Regions from separate parts of the Homo sapiens genome. Here all the other regions are linked to region 3. Evidence: promoter capture Hi-C in 16 types of primary human blood cells and fetal thymus (Javierre and others, 2016). All regions are on one chromosome and are shown on one strand. Each heading gives the region's core, a stretch centred on a gene start or on the middle of the fragment in contact. The rest is flanking DNA. Distances are from core to core; before and after follow the strand shown.

Region 1 (4,829 bases), core at 1,134-3,633, 1.0 Mb after region 3:
AAAAAAAAAAAAAAAATTGCAAAACTAGCCAAGCATGGTGGCGTGCACCTGTAGTCCCAGCTACTCAAGAGGCTGAGGTGGGAGGATGGCTTGAGCCCAGGAGATGGAGGTTGCGGTGAGCAGTAATCGTGCCACTGCACTCCAGCCTGGGTGACAGAGCCACACCTTGTCTCAAAAAAATAAATAAATAAAAATAAAGTGAATTTGAAAATACACGTCTTTATCAAACTCTCACTTCTAAGAATGTGTTTCCTTTATATGACCACATAAATGATACTTTGAAGAATTATTTCTTGAATCTTGCCCAGAATCAAAACCAATTTCATCAGCATATAATTTGAGAGCTCTACCTTCTCCTATTAGAAATTGCCACTGTATTTGTTAATATCCGATCTTGATTTCATTCTCCTTGATTTTCAAATAACAGAATATCTGTTAATCTACTCATTCAGGGTTCTCTGAGTAAGCTGAGATATAATTCACGTAGGCCTGATAATTGAAAATTATTTAGATCACTGTACAATTTATATATTCTCACACTTCTCACCCATCTTGGGCTCCAGTTCCTTCTGACCCACTTTTGTTTTACCTTCATCAGTATCCAGACCATTTTCGTAGACACTGAAGACAGACTCAAAGAGTTCTGCTTCCTCTGTCACTTGTTCACACTACACAGCCCAAGCATCAGACCTAGGTCTTCTTTTATCTTCTGGAGGTAAATGTGATCTTTTTTTTTTTTTAGTTAGAGTCTCACTCTGTCGCCCAGGCTGGAGTGCAGTGGTGTGATCTTGGCTCGCTGCAATTGCCACCTCCTGGGTTCCAGCGATTCGGCCTCAGCCTCCCGAGTAGCTGGCACTACAGGCACACGACACCACCCCCGGCTAATTTTTGTATTTTTGGTAGAGACAGAGTTTCACCATGTTGGCCAGGCTGGTCTCAAACTCCTGACCTAAGGTGATCCACCCACCTTGGCCTCCCAAAGCGGTGGGATTACAGGCATGAGTCACCGTGCCTGGCCTAAAAAACTGTTTTATTTGTTGTTAGTGGCTTTGCAATTCTTCTCTCATTTGAGCTTTAGTATTCCTCATGCCATTTTCACAGATTTGTGGAACTCTATTCATCTTTAGTCACATTTCCTTATTTCTGTCATGCATATATTTTCTATTAATATCTGAACTAATTAGAAAATGCCGCATACTATCACAATGGCTTTTTCAGACATCTCCTTTTTCTCTTCTTCACTGAGGTCATTTTAAATTATGTGATCAGAATTGACTATTTCAGGACAACCCAATCCTCTTGATCATGGCACATCTAACACAGTGCAGAGCAAATAATAGGAACTTACTAAATATTTAATGAATGAATTACAATAAATGAAAGAAAATCTCATTCCAATGAATTTTTTTTTTCTTGAGACCAAGTCTCACTCTGTTGCCCAGGCTGGAGTGCAATGATGCGATCTTGGCTCACTGCAGTCACTGCCTCCCAGGTTCAAGCAATTCTGCCTCAGCCTCCTGAGTAGCTGGGACTACAGGTGCCCGCCACCACACTCGGCTAATTATTGTATTTTTAGTAGAGATGGGGTTTCACCATGTTGGCCAGGGTGGTCTTGAACTCCTAACCTCAGGTGATCCACCTGCCCTTGGCCTCCCAAAGTGCTGGGATTACAGGTGTGAACCGTTGTACTAGGCCATCATTCCAAAGAATTATGCCTCTCCTTTCTTTGAATTTATTTTTTCTTTTTTTGAGACAGGGTCTCACTCTGTCATCCAGGCTGCAGTGCAGTAGCATGATCATAGTTCACTGAAGCCTTGAACTCCTGGACTCAAGTGATCCTCCCATCTCAGTCTCCTGAGTAGATGGGACTACAGGTGTGTGCCACCAAGCCCAGATAATTGTTTAAAACTTTTTTAAGAAATGAGGATCTTGCTATGTTGTCCAGGCTGGCCTGGGACACCTGGCCTAAAGTGATCCTCTCATCTCAGCCTCCCAAATAGCTGGGATTACAGGTGCAAGTCACCCACACCGAGCTCTCTGAATTTTTAAAAATCTGAATGTTTTTGTAATCCTCAAGACATAGCTGGCTATTCCTATTATAAAAAATTATATACAAAAATGAGCCAGGCATGGTGGCACGCGCCTATAGTCCCAGCTACTTGGGAGGCTGAGGCAGGAGAATCGCTTGAACCCGGGAGGCAGAGGTTGCAGTAAGCCAGGATCATGCCACTGGCCTGGGTGACAGACCAAGACTCTGTCTCGAAAAAAAAAAATTATGACGGCTGTAGAATAATTTTCTCCCTATGTTCCTGTCACTTTTACTTCAGTAAATTTCAGTTTTTGGTTTTGGGATTTTTTGGTTTGGTTTTTTGTTTTTTGTTTTTTTTTGAGACGGAGTCTTGCCCTGTCACCCAGGCTGGAGTGCATTGGTAGGATCTCGGCTCACTGCAACCTCCGCCTCCTGGGTTCAAGCAATTCTCCTGCCTCAGCCTCCCAAGTAGCTGGGACTACAGGCACACACCACCACATCTGGCTAATTTTTGTATTTTTAGTAGAGATGGGGTTTCACCCTTCTGGTCAGGCTGGTCTCGAACTCCTGACCTCAGGCGATCCACCCACCTCAGCCTCCCAAAATGCTGGGATTATAGGTGTGAGCCACCACGCCCAGCCACGAATTTCAATTTTAAAGTACATTCATCTTTCTGTGTTTCTCACTAGTGAAGACGTCATTCAGTGCTGTGGGAGCCCCTCAGAAAAACCCTTTGGAGGCTGCGCATTGTGGCTCATGCCTGTAACCCCAGCACTTTGGGAGGCCGAGGTGGGCGGATCACGAGGTCAGGAGTTCAAGACCAGCCTGGCCAACATGGTGAAACCCTGTCTCTACTAAAGATACAAAAAATTAGCCGGGCATGGTGGTGGATGCCTGTAATCCCAGCTACTTGGGAGGCTGAGGCAGGAGAATCGCTTGAACCTGAGAGGCAGAGGTTGCAGTGAGCTGAGATCCCACCAATGCATTCCAGCCAAGGCAACAGGGCGAGACTCCATCGCGAAAAAAAAAAAAATTATGACGGCTGTAGAATCATTTTCTCCCTATGTTCCTGTCCCTTTTACTTCAGTGAATTTCAGTTTTAAAGAATATGCATCTTTCTGTGTTTGCCACTAATGAAGACGTTAATTCAGTGCTGTGGGAGTCCCTCAGAAAAACCCTTTGGAGGCCAGGCACCCTGGCTCACGCCTGTAATCCCAGAACTTTGGGATGCCAACCAAGAGGATCACTTGAGCCCAGGAGTACAAGACCAGCCCTGGCAATATAATGAGACCTAGTCTCTATAAAAGACTTAACAATTGGCTGGGCACGTTGGCTCATGCCTGTAATCCCAGCACTTTAGCAGGCCAAGGCAGGTAGATCACCTGAGGTCAGGAGTTCAACACTAGCCTGACCAACATGGTGAAACCCTGTCTCTACTAAAAATACAAAATTAGCCAGGTGTGGTGGCTGGTGCCTGTAATCCCAGCTACTCGGGAGGCTGAAGTAGGAGAATCACTTGAACCCGGGAGGCAGAGGTTGCAGTGAGCTGAGATTGCTCCATTGCACTTAGCCTGGGTGACAGAGCAAAACCCCATCTTAAAAAAAAAAAAAGGAAAGACTTAAAAATTATCCAAGTGTGGCAGGGTGTGGTGGGAGGATTGCTTGAGGCCAGAAGTTTGAAACCATCCTGGGCAACAAAGTAAGACACCATCTCTATTAAAAAAGAGAAATTTTGGCTGGGTGCAGTGGCTCACACCTGTAATCCCAACACTTTGGGAGGCTGTGAAGGGCGGATTACCTGAGGCCAGGAGTTCAAGACCAGCCTGGCCAACATGGTGAAACCCCGTCTCTACTAAAATACAAAAATTAGCCGGGCGTAGTGGCGGGCACCTGTAAATCCCAGCTACTTGGGAGGCTGAGGCAGGAGAATTGCGAGGCAGAGGCTGCAGTGAGCCGAGATCGTGCCACTGCACTCCTCTTGTTGCCTGGGCAACAGAGCAAGACTACGTCTCAAAACATGAGAGAGAGAGAGAAATTTCGAAGAAGAAGAAGGAGGAGGAGGAGGAGGAGGCAGAGGAGGAGGAGGAGGCTGGGCACAGTGGCTCACGCCTGTAATCCCAGCACTTTGGCAGGCCGAGACCAGTGGATCACGAGGTCAGGAAATCGAGACCATCCTGGCCAACATGGTGAAACCCTGTCTGTACTAAAAATACAAAAATTAGCCACGCGTGGTGGCATGTGCCTGTAGTCCCAACTACTCAGGAGGCTGAGGCAGGAGAATAGCTTGAACCCGGGAGGCAGAGGTTGCAGTGAGCTGAGATCATGCCACTCCACTCCAGCCTGGGTGACAGATCAAGACTCCATCTAAAAAATAATAATAATAAAGAAAAAGAAGGAGGCCGGGTATGGTGGCTCACACCTGTAATCCCAGCACTTTGGGAGGGCAAGGTGGGAGTATCCCTTGAGCCCAGGAGTTCAAGACCAGCCTGGGCAACATGGCAAAACCCTGTCTCTACCAAAAATTCAAAAGAAATTAGCTGGGTATGGTGGTGCGCACCTGTAAGTCCCAGCTACTTGAAAGAATGAGGCAGGAGGATTCTTTGAGCCCAGGTGTTCAAGGCTACAGTGAGCTATGATCACACCACTGCATGCCAGTCCAGGTGAAAGAGTGGGACCCTGTCTCTATTTACAAAATTAAGTTGTGACTAAATGTTGCCATGAACTCACAAGTTCTATTTTTGGAAAAGTTATGAAAGGAAGACAAACCCCTCTCCCTGCTTCTGCCAACCTTTGCTGAACA
Region 2 (5,062 bases), core at 2,469-4,968, 1.3 Mb after region 3:
GGCACAGTGGCTCATGCCTGTAATCCCAGCACTTTGGGAGGCCGAGGTGGTCAGGAGTTTGAGACCAGCCTGACCAACATGGTGAAACCCCATCTCTACTAAAAATAGAAAAATCAGCCAAGCGTGGTGGTGGGTGCCTATAATCCCACCTACTCAGGAGGCTTAGGCCGGAGAATCACTTGAACTCGGGAGGCGGAGACTGCAGTGAGCTGAGATCGAGCCACTGCACTCCAGCCTGGGCGACAGAGCGAGACTCTTGTCTCCAAAAAAAAGATTAAACGGTAGGTTTTACGTTATATATATTTTACCACAAACAACAAAACTTTCTTGCCTTTGCATTTCTCTCATCTAAAATCTTTGTAAAGGCAATTTCTATTTCTTTATTCTTTCACAGAAACTTCTCTGTAAAACCTCCCATTCTTTTTACATCCGCAAGTCCAATGGTCACTAAGTCTTCTGACTCCATCCCACTATTACATCTGATAGAGACCCTGGTATGCTGTCTTTGTATATCTCTTCTTTATGCTTTCCTAGTTCTCTCCCTATCTCTCCAATTACCCTGTTTTTGGCATCTTCTTCTGCTCTGTCATGTACCAGGGTTTTGTGTATAGGCCCCACCTTTTTATTTTACAACCTTTCTCTATACAATTTTGGCTACTCTTTTGGTCTTAACTGCCTCCTCTATGACCAATTCTCAACAGACTAAGACTAAGAAAGGTATCATGGCCCCGTGGAATGGTACCAGAGTCAGCTAGAGGCTTCCAAGTACTTTCTTCCTCATTCTGATTCATATTCAGTGCAACTGGAAAACAATCCCCCTTTCTTTCCTCAACTAGACCTGTAAGGGCAAGGACTACATCTTTTTTGTTCTTACCTTCCCAATACCCCGTACAGTGCTTGGGAACACTGGACATGCTCAAATCTTTGAATGAAACTCCAGGCCAGCACTGTCCAATAGAACGTTTTACAATGATGAAAATGCTTTATGGCTGTCCCATATGGTAGCCATTAGCCACACGTGGCTATTGAGCATTTGAAATATAGCTAATATAACTGCAGAACTGAATTTATATCTTTTTTTTTTTTTTTGAGACAGAGTCTGGCTCTGTCACCAGGCTGGAGTGCAGTGGCACAATCTCAGCTCACTGCAACCTCCGCCTCCCAGGTTCAAGCCATTCTCCTGCCTCAGCCTCCCGAGTAGCTGGAATTACAGGCACACGCCACCATGCCCAGCTAATTTTTGTATTTTTAGTAAAGACGGCATTTCACCATGTTGGCCAGGATGGTCTTGATCTTTTGACCTTGTGATCCACCCACCTTGGCCTTCCAAAGTGCTGGGATTACAGGCTTGAGCCACCACGCCCGGCTGAATTTATATTTTAATTTATAATTAAATAGGCACATGTAGCTAGTGGCTACCGTAATGGATAGTGCCTCTAGAAATCCCTCTGGTTATACTGTCTTCTAGCTTGCCTCAGGTTATAAAATATTATTTTCCGGCCGGGTGAGGTGGCTCATGCCAGTAATCCTAGCACTTTAGGAGGCTGAGGCAGGCGGATCCCCTGAGGTCAGGAGTTTGAGACCAGCCTGACCAACATGGAGAAACCCGTCTCTACTAAAAATACAAAATTATCTGGGCCTGGTGGCGCATGCCTGTAATCCCAGCTACTCAGGAGGATGAGGCAGGAGAATCACTTAAACCCGGGAGGCGGAGGTTGCGGTGAGCAGAGATCGCGCCATTGCACTCCAGCCTGGGCAACAAGAGCAAAACTCCATCTCAATTAGAAAAAAAAAAAAAATCTTCCTTGCGGTCACAAGAGAAAAGATTTTGATATATCCTAACTCAATAGGGCTGGATATTTGCTCCCATATGTTTCACTATCAAAGAACATAAAATGAATTCATGCAAATTCTGAAAATTTGGGCTTCTTCTGTAACTTTGTATGATGGGTTTACCCTCTAAGTGTTGCTCCTTGGCCTGATGCACTGTCACTATTCCACTCAGTTAATGGTCCAAAAGAGAAAAGAAAGCATCCTACCATTTTCACAACGTAGAAGGCCATGGCATGTAAGTGTCGGGTAGAAGTTCCACTAACAATCACAAAGTAATCTGTATATCTCATTTCTGGAGGAACCTGGATCACACAAATGTCTCTTGCATTTTCTTGCCTCAGAAGTGAAACCATCATATCGATGTCAAACTTGGGACCAGTATGATCTGAAATGCACAAATAGTTGTTTGTATCAGGATGGCCAAGCAGATAGACGTGTATGCACCCAGAGATGCCGGCAGCTGACTGTTCCTCCATGAGGGTGTTTAGATCCAAAGTGTTTTTACAGATAGCAGGGTAAAGGCCTCCTGGAAGGTGAACCTGGGCAGTAGTATCATAGCACCGCTCAACTTTTATGGTCAGGGTGCTCAGATTACGCAGAGCCACTATACATCCTTCGCTATTAACCATATGCAAGTAGAACCAGACACCAGTGACAAATGACTTTCTACTAATACTTAAAAGGAGCAATACACCACAATCACAGAAATGCTGTGCAAAGAAAAACAGCACCACAAAATGGGTAGGAGGTGATATCCTGGAGCATATTAAATTGAATCTCAGTCATAACGGGTCACAGAATTGTGAGCTGGAAGGGCTCTTAGGCAGTATCTGGTCCACAACCTTCAGTTGAGAGATGAAGAAACTGAGGCCTAGGAGAATTACTGTGGCCTAAGATCAGTCACTGAAAGAGCTACATTTTTGAGTAATTATTATTTTGAACCTTCCAGTTTTCATATAAAACCACCGGGTTATTAACAACTGTTACCTATGAAAATCTAATTTTTTTTCCCGTAAAGATTTAGATATTCTGATCTTCAGCTTGGAGTATTACAGGCTGTAAATTTAAAAGCTCGCCCAAGTTCTAAAGCCGACTCCAAAGGACCTAGTAGCTAAGCCCACTAAGGCCTCTCCCTCTCATACTCTACATTCTTAGATGTGATCTGTTTACCATTCTTAAGTTTCTAAAAACGTCAGCAATAACTAGAGGATATTAACTTGGACCCATCTCCTACTGGCGCTTCCTACGCACCCCTTCGCACCCAGACCCTGGCTCCTCAGAATCCTCAAGCCCCAACAGTCCCCACAAACCCATTTCCCAGGATCCTAGGAAGAGGGTAAAAGGAAGTGAGGACGGTGAGACTGTGATGCCAAGGGTGGGAGATGGCCGTCCGGGAGGCTGGGATTCTGCAGTTCATCTCTTGCCCTCAATTTCTTCACTGTGAAACGGGAAGGTTGGCGCCAACAACCTTTGAAGTCCCTTCCAGCTCTGGATGTGCAGGAGTTTTGTGACTCCAAGAGAAATGCACATAGAGGGGAACCCAGAGCCACCTTGGCTGGGACCTGACTCCAGACTGCCCGGAGAGGGTCGCCTTCGTTCTTCTCCACGCCCGTACCTGCCGCGTCCGATTCTGGGCGTCCCTCGTTGACCGTCCCCTCCGCCCGCTCCTCCAGCCCAGGCTCGCTGTGCAGGCCGCGGACAAAGTTTGGGGTCTGGCAAGCCCGGCAGAACGCTGCTCCTACGGGAAGCCGCTGCACGGCCAGCAGCCGAAGCCCGGGCTCGGCTCCAACCGCGGACCCCGCCACCGAGGAAACCGCCCTGCGCCACATTAGTGGGGCGAGCAGCCGCGCCACACGGCCGCCCGGCCCCATAGCAGCAGCCTTGCGTCGGCGTCGCGGGTGGGTGGTACTTCATGGAGCCCGGCCGGGAAATTCTACGTCGATGCGTGGGCGGAGTCAAGGCCTGAAGGACGGACCATGGGCGGAGTCTGGAGCCCGTGAAGACTGCAGTGACCCGGAAGAGCTACTTGGGGATTAGGGCGTGCGGGAATAAAGAACTAGTGTTGCTTGCCCACCTTGCTTTGCTTTGTGTCGCAGTAGCGCATTACGTTGTCACTTTTTTTTTGGACTCTGTCCACTAATGTGAGGCTCATGAAGGCAATAATTTTTGTTTCATTTTTAACTCTTCTCTCCACAGCACCTAAAACAGTTCCTGGTACTGAATGTCCAGAAGTTGCTGTTAATCTGATTAGGCTGGGATTAGGACATATAATCTACCCTCTCTCATTACCAGAAAATATTCAAGATTCCCTTGCAAATTTGAAATTGCGCGAGGAAAATCTGTTATCCTGGGCTAGAGTGGGGTGGGAGGCAGAGGTGTAAAGGACCATTTGGAAACCGTTCTTAGGTCAGCCCATCATCTACACTCCCTGTATGGAGGAGTTTACGCCCAGGGGCGGTACTGTGGGGACCAGCTCTGTAAGAATAAGGAATTCTGAGGTGCCAGCTGCGGTATTAAGTCACAGGACTTGAGAACTGCGATAGATTCCTGGCACGGGTGGGGGGGTGGGGGGTTTTGGGGGCGTGGGACGCCGCAGGGAAGCAACTTGCCCAGGTCATACACTTACTGACTGCGTCAGAATCAGAAGCCAGTTTCTGGCTTCTGAACTCCAGGCCTGCTAACTGCTGAAAGGAAGGCTTCATAGAGAGCAAATATTTCAAATGCCTGAAACAGTGCCAGACACATAGCAGGCACTCCAAAAATGTTTGCTACATTATTTTAAATAATTCCAAGCACTAATTTTGGGAAGTTTTTTAAAAATAGAGAAATTAAGCATTTGTGTATATCACACCAGATATGTACAACCACTTCAAGTTATTTTTGAAAAGAAGAAAAACATTACAGATTAAGTTTCCTCTGTCCAATTTTAGCCCCATCCTCAATTCCATTTTTCCACAGGCATGAACTTGGCTTTTCTCCCAGCTTCTGGCATCCATTCCGTGTTCCCACCCTTCTCTGAACATCCCAGACCTGCTTTACCACCTGTATTTGCCAGCTCATTTAATGGGTCATTATCCCTTCAAAACTCCCAAACCCTAGACTTCATTCAGTCCAGGATCTTCATACAACAAACGAATCTGTTGTCAAAATCCTGCTTATGTGACCTCCAAAATGTTTCTGTGAGTTCAGCTTCTTGTCTTCATTTCCACTGTTTCTTCCTTAGTCCACA
Region 3 (4,794 bases), core at 672-3,171:
AACAGTTGGCCTAAAGAAAAAAAAAGATTCTGTCTTATATAGAGCTACTAGACTTGCTTAAACACCTTAATTTTTCCAGTGTTGATTTAACCTAGAATGCAAAATAATTCATTTTGACATTCCAGATGTCAAGAATTCGGTGGCATCAGTAAGGACACATACACACCTCTTTCATAAAGATGGTGTGCAGTCTCCATAGGACAAAATTGAGCAATTAAAAGTGTTACCATTTGTGTATTATGTAACCGTAGTCCAGAATGAAGGAAACATGGACCTTAAAGAGTAACACATCGTGCAAACACGCATTTAAACACCTATTTAAATATATGATAGATTTAAGGTACAAATGACCTCAAAATGACACAACCCACAAAAGTTCTTTGTTTACTGTTAACAAGGCCTCAGAAGACATAACTATAATCAGGCCTACTACCCACTACCCTATCATTGCACAGTAGATGCCTACAATAAGCAATATTACTTGAGGTCCGTTGCTATACCTATATACGGAAACTATATACCGCATTACTAAAAATGTTACTTCGCCTGGTATATTCGACCAACATAAGTTTACAAATGATTTGCAAAATTTCACGGGAAGAAATGGCTGCTAAATCATACTCCAATTGAAACGCATTTTAACGCACCCCAAACGTTCTCAGCTACACTACAAGACCACTTGTAATATACTTGAAGCACAAAGTAAAATTCCAACACTCTCCAAAGGCGTAGGAAAGAATAAAACGTGGCTAGCCTGACCTTACCCGGCTGTTTATAAGTAATGCGGAGAATTTTCTGAGCTTCCCCGGCAGTCTTCAATTCTCTCCCTCGCTTCACCCCCACCCCCTACACAGATGCACACCCAACTGATGGAAGTTTAACAAATGTAATCTCGAGCTGCAATCCCAGAAACTGGTAGGATTGAGAATAAACTCCCAGTAAAGTGTTAAAAAGTCCTTCTGCAAAAAAACATCTACCAACCAATCCACATCCTGTCACCACACGGTCGGATACCTCAATCGACTCCCCTGCTGACCCTCCACCCAGCCAAAATAAAAAAGCCCCAGCACCTATTTGGTTTCAGACAAACGTACCGAGAATCCGCGAGCACGATCTCAGCAGCGAACGCCCCCGCGGCAGCCTGTGCTCGGCCCACAGCCACTTTGGCCAAACAACTGGAGTCTCGTACCTCGGAAGTAGCGGCGGTAGTTGGAGAAAGCCTCCTCCCCTACCAACTCCGAGCTCGGGAGAGAACCGGGAGCCGGCGGAATCACCCCCTCTCGGGACAGACCCCGGAGGTGTCAGTCACAGCAACGCCGCCCCCAGGCCGGCTCTCCATTCAGGCTCCACCGCGACTCCCGCCGCAGAGGTGTAGGCACCCAAGCCCCGCGCCCGAAGGGGCCCCGCGCGTCTGCGGCCCTAGCCCCAGTCGGGGCCGCGCCGGGGAGCGCGTGGGGAGCGGCGGCAAGCAGCATGGGCCAGACACGTTGCCGAGCTCCGGCCCGCCCAGCCGCCCGCAGCCAGAGAGGCAGGAGCCCGGCCGAGCGCCCCTTCCGCGCGGGCCGGGCTGGGGGCGGCCAGCAGCCTCCCCGACCGCGGCGCCGCCGCCGCCGCCTGCCGGTCCCTCTTCCCCGCGCCCGCCGAAGCCCAGGTGCCGAGGGGGGCGGGGCGGGCCAGGGTCCCCGCGTGGCGCGCCGCGCCGAGCAACAGGGCGCCCCCGGCCGGCCCGGCGCGCGGCGCGACCGTTACCCGAGCGGCGTGGGGGTCCAGTTAACTCACCGGCTCGCACCTCAGCCGCCTCCGCGCCGCCGCTGCCGCCGCTCCCGGTCGCTCCCCGCCGCCGCTGCTCTCCCTCAGCCACAGGCGCCGCCGAGCAGCCCCATCTGCAAACTCGTGGCTCGTAGTTGAGAACTGGAAATGCGTCTCTCACTGCCCTCCGCCTCCCTCTCTCTCCTCCCCCTCCCTCGCTCCCCACTCTGCCCCAGCTCCGGTCGCCCCCGCCGCTGCCTCCGCGCGCGCAGCCAGCCGCGCCTCAGCCGCCCTCCTCCTCCTCCTCCTCCTCCTCCTCCTCCTCCAGCCGCCGCCGCCGCCGCCGCTTGGGCGCGCTCCCAGCCGGCCTCGCGCGTGCGCCGGACGTCGGGGAGCGCGCGCTCGGGCGCGAGGAGGTGCCACCGCCTCCGGAAAGCCGGGCCCCGCCCCTCCCGCCGCGGCTGGGCGCCCAGGTGGAGCCCCCTCCCAGCTTCTGAGCGCCCAGACTGACTGCGCTCTGCGCCCGGCCGGCTCGCTTCAGGGGTCCCGGACCTGCGCCCGCGAGAGAGGGCTGGTCGGACCCAGTCCCCGCCGGGTCTCCTGGGCCGAAGTCGCAGCTGTCTGTCAGCATTTACGGGTGGGCAAGATACTCCTCGGGGCATAAAACAGGCTCCGCCCTGACCTTTCTGAGAGTTTTACATTCAAGAACCCAGTCGTGGGGCACAAAAGAGAAATGGAACGAGAAGAAAAGCCTCTGGAAAAATCTCCCCCTCCCCCTTCACAGACTCCACTGGATCTGATGTGTATTTGGCAGGTTCTACGGCGCTGACTGTGTCCTTCATTAATTTTTTCCCAAAGGCCCGACCGGGCAGTGTGATTCACACCCGAGGAAATGCATGGACACTGGCTCTTTTCATAGCACCGAGGCTCCCGTGGAACTCCCTGGGTCGGCTTTGCCAGACACTCCCTGGACACAGTTGTTCAGCTCCTCCCCAGCACCTGGGCTTCCCAGACCTCAAAAGGGTGGGGTTGGGGAGGGCATGCCATCCTTTCAGCCTGGACTCTGCGTAGAGCTTGGTGAACTGTGATGAGTGTCCGGATGTGTAGATGACACATTTTGACAGAAGTGCAGATTTAATTTTTCAGTTGAAAGGAACTGAGCAATGCACTGCAGCAGAGACTTCTGGCTAGAAAAACATAGCAAGGCAGCCAGAGAACTTCCGATCCCCTTAAAAGAGCTCTGTGAACCCTCAGACCTGTGACAGGCGGCTTTTGGAAAAACTATTGTGTTCTTCCTAAAATTGAAGAATGTAATTTACATTTTACAAAATGCTTACTGCAATCTTTTCAAACCATGAACGTAGAAAGTGCAAGTCAAACTTTACGTGTGAGGAGTGTTATGAGGTGGCCTCCTCTGTGCAGCCTTTCCTGGCTTCTCTTGGGCACCTTGCACAAACCAGACCATTAATAAGTGTTTGCAGAATAAATGCGTGCATCATGGCCCTTTGGATTCAGAGATGAAGTTATAAGTTGTATTGTCTCCTCTCTTTGTGAATGTGGCAGGCATGGAAGGGAGAGAGAAAATACTATTGATGAGATGTATTAAGAAGGTCCAGTGTCCAAAACAGTGATTTTTGTGTTTATCCTCAACCAAGCATCAAAGATTAATTTACTTTTCCATTAGGATCATTAATTTTGCAAACCAACATGCAGGGGGGCCTTGTACAGTGTTAATTTAGAACCTTCTTTCCTGGAACCACAAACCCAGGCAAAGGTAATTGGAAGCATTTAAGGAGACTCAAACGTGCCCAGGGCACAGAGTAGCTTTGGGCCCCCTGTAGTCAGGATGGCTGGATGAAATGAAGTGGAGTGGGCTCGGAGCCCAAGGCAGAGACAAAGCGGAAGGATGGGGTTTGTCTTCTCGGGGTGTCAGCAAGACCTTTCAGGTCCTTCTTGCTGCCCCAGGCCCACTTGCTTCTCACAGGACACCCATGGGTCCTCCCTGCTGTACCCTACCCAGGCTTGTGAACTCTTTTCCCTTCTGACTCTTAACCTTAACACATCCCCTTGGACCCAGCCACTTAGTTACTTGCCCTGAGCTTCTCTGGGGTTGGGGTGGGAGGTAGGGTATGAATGTCATTTCCAGATATGTTAGTGATCCTTAATAGTGCACTTTTATTTCCTCAAGGGTCTTCTGGAAACAATGTCCTAACCTACTCTACCCCTGCTCCCTGCAAGTAGAATGATGTTAACTGAGGAAGTTTTAGGGAGGGAGGGTTTGGGGTAGGCTCTGCCCCTCAAATTACATGCAGACCTACCTGACTTAAAGCTGGCACCACTCCTGGCCAACTGCTTTATCTCTGCATCTACCAGAGACCCAGCATTTGGGAGCAGGAATACAGGAACAATTATCTTTCATTTGCAGTTCCAAGTCTGTGCTCTAAGTAATGACAGCAGCTATCAGATGGAGGCTTATCACTGCCGTAAGACTCAGCTTCATTCTTAGAGTCAGAAAAATGATTTTGCTCCAATAACTGTCTTTGATTGCTCCCCTTCAGAAAGCTCTTGCCGGTGAAGTTCCTCTCTCAGTGTCAGATGAGTATTGTATCAAATACTCATATACAGTTATAAAAGGAAACACTATTTCCTTTTATAAATGATATTCCCATTTTATAACATTCTGCCCTTCCTCTAAACTTTAAAGGTGGGACATGCCAGGATAAATTTAAAGTGTTCTCAGTTAAACATTGGAACTCCCATCATTGGTTCCCAACTCAGCTTTCTGAGAGGTCATCATACTGAGACACCACCATCCATTTCCCATACCGGTTACAAATTCTTCATTCCAAGAAAGGGGAATGATATGATTGAGAATGATGGTGGATCTTTCTCTTCAGTGTCCTTAATAGTCTGACTTTTCATTTCCTTCAAGGTTACTCTAAAGGGATCATAATTTTACCACAGCCCAGTATCTCCCAACGGTAATTCAATTTAAAATTTGAATTTTGATTCTTAATTCAGGAGCATCCATCACTCAATTTTGTT

What was found. The method cuts DNA at HindIII sites, captures the fragments that hold promoters and counts their contacts. A CHiCAGO score of 5 or more calls a contact.
Region 1: a contact is called between a fragment that was not itself captured here and the fragment with the promoter of PALS2 in region 3, in 4 of 17 cell types (naive CD8 T cells, total CD4 T cells, naive CD4 T cells and 1 more). The highest score is 7.2, in naive CD8 T cells.
Region 2: the fragment with the promoter of MALSU1 here is called in contact with the fragment with the promoter of PALS2 in region 3 in 10 of 17 cell types (naive CD8 T cells, total CD8 T cells, total B cells and 7 more); the score reaches 18.4 in naive CD8 T cells.

What each region holds. Positions count from the first base shown.
Region 1 is chr7:23,549,486-23,554,314 of GRCh38, reverse strand. No RefSeq gene overlaps it. Among named protein-coding and RNA genes, the nearest start is that of TRA2A, 20 kb to the right of the region's middle. The HindIII fragment of the contact is 9,681 bases long and covers 1-4,829 here.
Region 2 is chr7:23,297,995-23,303,056 of GRCh38, reverse strand. It overlaps MALSU1 (mitochondrial assembly of ribosomal large subunit 1), which reads right to left and starts at 3,718. Exons shown (of 4, transcript NM_138446.2): 1 at 3,449-3,718; 2 at 2,040-2,218. The coding sequence starts at 3,704. RefSeq lists an enhancer at 3,412-3,901. The HindIII fragment of the contact is 9,022 bases long and covers 1-5,062 here.
Region 3 is chr7:24,570,579-24,575,372 of GRCh38, reverse strand. PALS2 (protein associated with LIN7 2, MAGUK p55 family member) reads right to left here and starts at 1,921. Exons shown (of 12, transcript NM_001303037.2): 1 at 1,780-1,921. RefSeq lists enhancers at 1,053-1,172, 1,223-1,272, 1,218-1,717, 2,583-2,682, 2,703-2,772 and a silencer at 1,373-2,442. The HindIII fragment of the contact is 6,948 bases long and covers 1-4,794 here.